Linked DNA regions of Homo sapiens: region 1 is linked to region 2. Evidence: promoter capture Hi-C in human tissues and cell types (Jung and others, 2019). All regions are on one chromosome and are shown on one strand. The core of a region is centred on a gene start or on the middle of the fragment in contact, and the rest is flanking DNA. Distances in the headings are between cores, read along the strand shown.

Evidence for each region. The method cuts DNA at HindIII sites, captures the fragments that hold promoters and counts their contacts. A contact is called where the count stands out against the background at its distance.
Region 1: a contact is called between a fragment that was not itself captured here and the fragment with the promoter of MN1 in region 2, in 2 of the 25 tissues and cell types used here (dorsolateral prefrontal cortex and mesendoderm cells).

What each region holds. Positions count from the first base shown.
Region 1 is chr22:27,239,963-27,243,404 of GRCh38, reverse strand. No RefSeq gene overlaps it. Among named protein-coding and RNA genes, the nearest start is that of LINC01638, 17 kb to the right of the region's middle. The HindIII fragment of the contact is 9,759 bases long and covers 1-3,442 here.
Region 2 is chr22:27,799,981-27,803,748 of GRCh38, reverse strand. MN1 (MN1 proto-oncogene, transcriptional regulator) reads left to right here and starts at 1,993. Exons shown (of 2, transcript NM_002430.3): 1 at 1,993-3,768. The coding sequence starts at 3,206. The HindIII fragment of the contact is 23,630 bases long and covers 1-3,768 here.

The DNA of each region.
Region 1 (3,442 bases), core at 295-2,794, 560 kb after region 2:
TCACACTGCTCCATAGCCACACAGTGCACCACCTTGCCCCCTGGCATTACCTGTGCTGCCACGTTTGCCCCCCTCTTTCCTTTGGGGTGGCTTCATGTCCCAGCTTGCACCCCCTGTCCCAGAAGCCTTTGCTGATCCCCTCCCTCCTTTCCAGCTCTAAAGCTGCTCCGTCTCTGCGTGCCTGTGTCTTGTCCTCCCCAGCCACTCTGCAAGGGAGTGGAAGGCGTCTACTACACGTCAGCATCCCTCTTCCTCGGGGCGGGGGTGCACCTTGGAAGTGCAAACATGTCTTATTTATATATGAATGAAGTAATAGATAAGAAGCAATGCCCTCCCAGGAATCACACTGTGACTTCTACCCTTGGGGAGCGGGCAGAGTCTGATGGCTGATGACATCAGCTTCACACGCAGTGTTCATGGAGCCCTGGGAGCACAGCATAAGTCTTGCTTTTGTGAGAAGCACAGTCCCTGTCCCTTCTCCCACCCAGATGACCGGCTGTTGGTCCCGGGAAGTAAGTGGCCAACTGCCCCATGGTGATAGACATTATTGTGTCTGTCTCTGTGTGTGTGTGTGTGTGCGCGCGTGCGCGGGGGGTGCTGTAACAGAAGGAATAATTCCCTAAGTAACTAGAAGCTATGAATTCACCAATATACCAAGAAAAGGAGGATGAAACCAATGTTGGATAGATTGTTAAGAGATTGACAAACAATGAGAGAGAGAGAGAGAGAGATAGGGAGAGACAGACAGACAGACAGAGAAATAAGAAGGGAAGTAAAAATTCAGAGGAAGGTGAAGGAGAACTTTTCTAGGGCAAAGCAAGCAGACGCTGACCCCTCTGCTCCCAGGGAAGGAAGATCAGTAGTTGTAAGGACCTGGAATAATGAGGCAAGAACCAAGAGAGAAGCCAAAAAGAAGCAGAGGAGGAAGAAGGGCCTTCTTTCCAGCATACTCAATATGCCAGTCCCCATGTAAACCTATGCGCCTTCACTGTCATCTCTTTTCAACCCTCCAGGCAAACCTTCAGGATAGGTCCCATTTTACAGATGAGGGACCTAGGGCTCAGAGAGGGGCCGGCACTTGTTTAGGGAGCTGCAGCTTGCCAGTGGCAGAGCCAGGAATGAGCCCCGGTCTGTGTGGCCCCATGCCCGGTCTCAGGCTGCCAGAAAAGCAGAGCTGACAGGAGAAAGGTTAGAGGAATAAGAAACAGGCTGGGGACATGCAGCCTTTCCCAGGGCCCCTCCCAGGCCTGCCTGACCCCCTACCCTTGGGGAAGGACAGGTTTAATGGCACTGTCCCTCCTGGGGTGGAGAAGGTGCTGAGTGGCACTTTCCCACAGGACCTGGTGGGAACAGAGCTGCCTGGGCCCCAGCTGGCTGCCCAGCTAATGAGCCCCAGAGGGAGCTGGACAGGCCTCATAAAGCCAAACACAGGGCAGCAGGCAGGAGGCAGCTGGAGCCCTGGGCTGTCTGCCCCTGGCCTTGGCTCGGTGCCGGCTGAAACCAAAAGCGCCCAAGACCTTGACAGACAAGAGACCCTTGCCAATCCCTGCTCCTGGTGCCTCCCTCTTCCTGCTCAGGGCCCAGATCTGAGCCATCTCCACAGAGACCATCTCCTCACTGCCTTAGAGACCATGTGGTCCTGATGGGACAGTCAGGGGTTCAGGTCAGAGCTAGGAGGACCCTCAGAGAGCATTGGCTCCCTTCTCTTGTAGAGTCAGGGTAACTGTGACCCAGAGAGGGCAAGCTACTGGGAAAAGGCCAAACAGCGAGACGGGACAGCAGACCCATGTGCCCATGTGTTTGTCTTCCTAGGAGCAATAGGAGTCCGTTTGCCCAGAGAGTAATTAGAATATGTGATATGACCAGCCCTTGTTAGGGCAGAGGACAAAAATTAGGCAACTTAGCCATTCCTAGCACTCACAAAAAGGTGAACTCTGGATTAACATAAGGATTAACCCATTTAATCCTCCCCCAAGCCCTACTAGGACACTTTTAGTATCCCCATTGACAATGGAAGACTCTGAGGGCTCAGAGAGGTTAAGTAACTTGCTCAAGGTCACGCAGCCAGTGCTATGGTTTGAATGTCCTCTCCAAAACTCAAGTTGAAATTTAGTTGCCATTGTGACAGTGGTAAGAGGTGGGACAATTAAGAGGTGACTAGGCCATGAGGACTCAATCCTCATGAACGAATTAATGTTGTTATCACATCACAGGAGTGATGGGAATTATCATGGGTGTGGGCACTTGATTTAAAAAGTATGAGTTCAACCCTTTTTCTGTCTCACCTTTTCTTACCCGTCCACCTTCTGCCGTGGGATGATGCAGCATGAAGGCCCTCACCAGATACTGGCACCTTGCTACTGGACTTCCCAGACTCCAGAAGTGTGAGAAATATATTTCTTTTCTTAATAAATTACCCAGTCTTGGGTATTTCATTGTAGCAGCACAAAACGGATAAAGATAGCCAGTTGGTGGCAAAGCTGGAGTTTGAACCAGAGTCCAACCTTTTACCTGTTATCCATGCGGCTTTCCCACTGAGGATGGAGTCAAGCTTCCTCCAGTGTGCCCAGGCCATAAGCTAAGCACTCACAGGGCAGGTAGACCCTGGGGGATCTCACAGCCTGGGGCAGTGGCTGGTGATCAGTAATCACACTCCAGCCTAATGTTCTGGCAGCCACCCAAGCTGGGCACAGAGTTAGATTCCCTGCCTGCTTCCTGATACTTAGCTTGTTCATTGCAGTCTAGCCTCAGTGTCATGTTTTTTCATTACCAAGAGCTTGTCCCAGCTCCTTGGTCTTGTTGTGAGTGGTGATAGCAGGGGCTCTGGAATCTGCCTGCCTGTATCTGCATTTTGACAGCTGTGTGACCTTAGACAAGTCGCTTAACCTCTCTGGGCTTTACTTTCCTCATCTGTAAACTGGGACTAATAATAGTACTTGCCTCATAGGGTGGAAATGAAAGTAGTGACTATTTAAAGTGCTTAGAAAAATGCCAGCACACCCCAGAGCTCACTATAAGTGATGATTACTATGGCTACTGCTGCTTCTATCGCTGGGGCAGGGGTGCGCTACAAACTGGAGTTGTCACCACAGATGAGGTCTGTGCTACCCATTGCCAACCACAGGGTATTTATTGGACACCCGCTGTGTGCCAGGCCCTATGCTAGGCACTGAGGGTGAAATAGTGAAGAAGCAGGCAGGCACCATCGCTGTCCCATGCCCCTCCCCCCAGCCTAGTGGGGAGATGGATGAGGAAACTGACAGTTCGACGCAGAGTGATCAGGGCTGCTGAGGGAAGCCCCCAGGAGGCCCCAGAGCCAGCAGAGGGTGGGATGTGGGCCTCGTAGACTTCTCGGAGGATAGGTGGGACTTAATCAGAAGAAGGTGAGAGGAAACAGGATTGGAGGTGGTAGGATCAGCACATGCAAAAGACTAGTGGTGGA
Region 2 (3,768 bases), core at 744-3,243:
AACCTCTAAGCTATCAGCAAGAGGATAGTTCACATGAAAACTAATTACACAAAATCAATATTTAATCACAGACCAACAACCTGATCCTGCAGAAAAATCCTTTAAAAACTCCACCGCCCTGTACAAATACTTATTCCCTATGCTTATTTATGGACCCCATTTTTGATGGGGGTAATTTTCATTTTTAATTTCAAAAAAGAAAAAATATATATGTCTGTAAACTTCCACAACAGGAAGGCCCCGGGAAAGGTCTTGGATCTGAGCTTGCTCTGGCTGAGTTTTAAAGTTGTTGTTTTTTCTTGTTTGTTTATTTTTAATTAAAATTTTTTTTGGGCGGGGGGCAATTTCTTAGGAATTCTGCCGCTACCCCAAAGTTGAGCCCATTTCCCCCCACCCCCGGCATGTCGGTTCTGGCATACTTAGCACTGCCTTCCTAGCCGCAACTCAGGGGAGCAATGAATCTGCGCGTACGACATGGTAACTTTTTAACTCCTGCCCGCGACGGTGGAGTGCTTAATCTAAGGTTTTTAAATAAAAAGGGCTCAGGGGTTGGTTTTATTATAACGTTTATTTCATTTCAGATTTCATGCGTAATTTAGCAAACGCTAGACAGACTCGGGCGATAAACACTTTCTTTTGTGGGGGGGGAAAGGCATTTTCATACACCACGCTTAATTTTATTTAGATTTAATAGCGATATCAGGGGCACTTCAAAGAAAGTTCTTTTTTCGCCCTTCTCCTAAGAATGCGAATCTGCTAGCAAAATCGCCTCGTGCTATTTTATGGCAAGGAAAATTAAAGGCCTTCTCCCCCCTCCTTCCCTACACACACTTTAGGGAGGAACACACACACACACACACACGCATGCACAAACACACGCACGCAGGCGCGAGCACACGCACACAGGCGCACAGAATAAACACCTCTATCCTCCATCACCTCTAACTTCCAACTTCTAATTGCAAGATAGATTTCAGCCTCTGTGGGGATCAGGACGATCTAAACATTTTAACTAAGATTATTGGGATAAATATTTCATAAAGAGCAGGGCAGATATTAAATTACTCCTATTGATTTTAGTATCACAGCCCAATTCCATTCCTCGGCCTCTTCAGTTTAATTGATCTCTTAAGGAGGCCAACTTCGCACCCGCAGAGGGTCTGGGTCTTGGACCGGGTGGCCCAGGGCAAGGTGTGCGGCCCGGCGGGTGCGCCCTCTTCGTGCGTGTCTTCTCGGGGTTCCCAGCCGCCTCGCAAGTCGCTCCGGTTACTGGGCTCAACCGATGTGCTCCCCCATAAAGTGGCTGAGTGACTGTGACTCCTTGGAGCCCACGCCGGCCGGTGAGAACCGGGAACCCCAGGCAGTGGGGAAGGGGAACAATTGTGAACGCCCTAGTGACGGAGGAGTGAGCAAGCGCCCAGGTCTCTCGAGGAGAACCCTAACTTCGAGGTTCCCCGTCTGCTTTACCCTCCAAGAAAATCCCAGGGCCGGCTAACTTGGGCGCCGCTAGCGGAGAACGGAGTGTTCACCCCGGAGCCGAAGTGCAGTAGACACTTAGCGACTTTCCGTGGCGAGTCTAGGGTCTTTGCCTGGCGACCTCATTGTCTGAGCGCCCCGTACCGCTCACCGCCCACCTCCCCGCCCCCTGCCCACCCGGTGGGTCTCGCTCCAGTTGGGGGTGGGGAGTTGGGAACAGTGTGAATGGGAAGGGGGTGAACAAAGCCAAGCTCCCGCCATTCTCCTCCGCCTGCACCCTCTCCAGCTCGATGCGCCCGGAGGCCGGGGCGCGCCCCCAGCGCACTGACGCCGGACCCCGAGGAGAGGCGGGCGCAGGGGACCCCAGAGCTGGGGTAGTGCGGGTTCGTGGCGGGGGCTTCGGCAGCCAGGACCCCGGACCACCTTAAGAGCGAGCCCCGCCCCGAGCCCGGAACTTGGGCGGCGCTGATTGGTGCAAATGTAATGGCTGAAATTGATTGCTGAAATGCAAAACTTGTTGCTGCTTCTCCCGGCGCTGGGCGAGAGGCAGACACAGAGAGGGGAGCCGAGACCCTCGGAACGCCCCACGCAGAGCCCCCCCGCTAGTCGGGAGAGGGGTGCGCAGACCCCCCAGAGCTGCCCCCGCGCCCCCCTCCCCCCATTCCGGGCTCTGAGAGCGCAGCGGGAACGCCTTAGCCTGCTCGCCCGGCGTGGCCCCCCGACCCGCGTACGCCCCCCTCCCTCAGGTCCGAGAGGGACTCGCGAAGCACCTCAGCGCGGAGGCAGGGAACCGGAGCCTTGGAGCGACCCAACCCCTCGTCTCGCTGCCCTCCCGCGCCTGCAACGGTGCGCGGAGACTCCGGCGAACTCAGACACCCAACGGCGGAGAACAGAAGCGGCAGGCGGCGGACGTGGCCGCGAAGCTGCGCGCCGAACGCAGCGCACCCGCTGCCGAGCAGAGGAGCCGCGCCTTTCCCCGACCCTCGGCTCCAGCCCCCGGCGCCTGCCGCCTCGCAGCCCCTCTGCGTCCTCGGCTCGGGGGCCGGCACCGGCGATGCCGAGCGGAGCCTCCAGTCCTCCGACCCGCTGAAGAAGCAGCAGCCGCTCGCCCGGAGCCTACGGGGATTGTGCGAGCGGATCGTGCTCGGTGGAGGCTCGGGCTGCGGGGCGCGGGGACTCCGGGGGGCGGGGGGAGGGACCGCTCTGTCGGTGCCCGGCGCCAGCCGCGGCTTTGAAGGGTCTCCCTCCCCTGCCCTTAGCAGCTCTGCCACGGACTCCGGGAGGCTGCGGGCGGCGTCCTGAGGGCTCCCCAGCAGACCCAATCGGACTTGAGAAGGTGATCGCTCTGCTCTCCCAACCCCCTTCCCTCCCCATTCCCCCCACTTAACTTTTTGTCTCCGTTCATCCGCGGCTTCGTCCCCTCCCCGCAGACCCACCCGCGGCTGTGACAACCGCCCGGGGCATGGGCCCCCCAACACGGCTCCTAGAGGCCCCGCGGCCTCGCAAGATGTGAGAGGCCCTCCCCGGGCAGAATCGGAGCTTCAGGAGAGGAGCTAATACCCCGCCCCCCGTCCCTCACATCAGGCGGGGTGGAGGTGCGCGCTGAGCCCCCGCGGTGCTGAGCGTCCCGGAGCGCCCAATCCTGGGCTGGAACGAGTAGCTGGCCGGAGGCGCGCCGCGGAGAGCCGGCTGTCATGCCCTATTGATCCCCCTCTGCCCCCCGCCAAGTATGTTTGGGCTGGACCAATTCGAGCCCCAGGTCAACAGCAGGAACGCTGGCCAGGGCGAGAGGAACTTTAACGAGACCGGACTGAGCATGAACACCCACTTTAAGGCCCCGGCTTTCCACACTGGGGGGCCCCCTGGCCCTGTGGATCCTGCTATGAGCGCGCTGGGCGAACCCCCGATCTTGGGCATGAACATGGAGCCCTACGGCTTCCACGCGCGCGGCCACTCGGAGTTGCACGCAGGGGGGCTGCAAGCGCAGCCTGTGCACGGCTTCTTTGGCGGCCAGCAGCCTCACCACGGCCACCCGGGAAGTCATCATCCCCACCAGCATCACCCCCACTTTGGGGGCAACTTCGGTGGCCCGGACCCCGGGGCCTCGTGCCTGCACGGGGGTCGCCTGCTCGGCTACGGCGGCGCAGCCGGAGGCCTGGGCAGCCAGCCGCCCTTCGCCGAGGGCTATGAGCACATGGCGGAGAGCCAGGGGCCTGAGAGCTTCGGCCCGCAGCGACCGGGGAACCTCCCGGACTTCCACAGTTCAGGTGCCTCCAGCCACGCCGTGCCGGC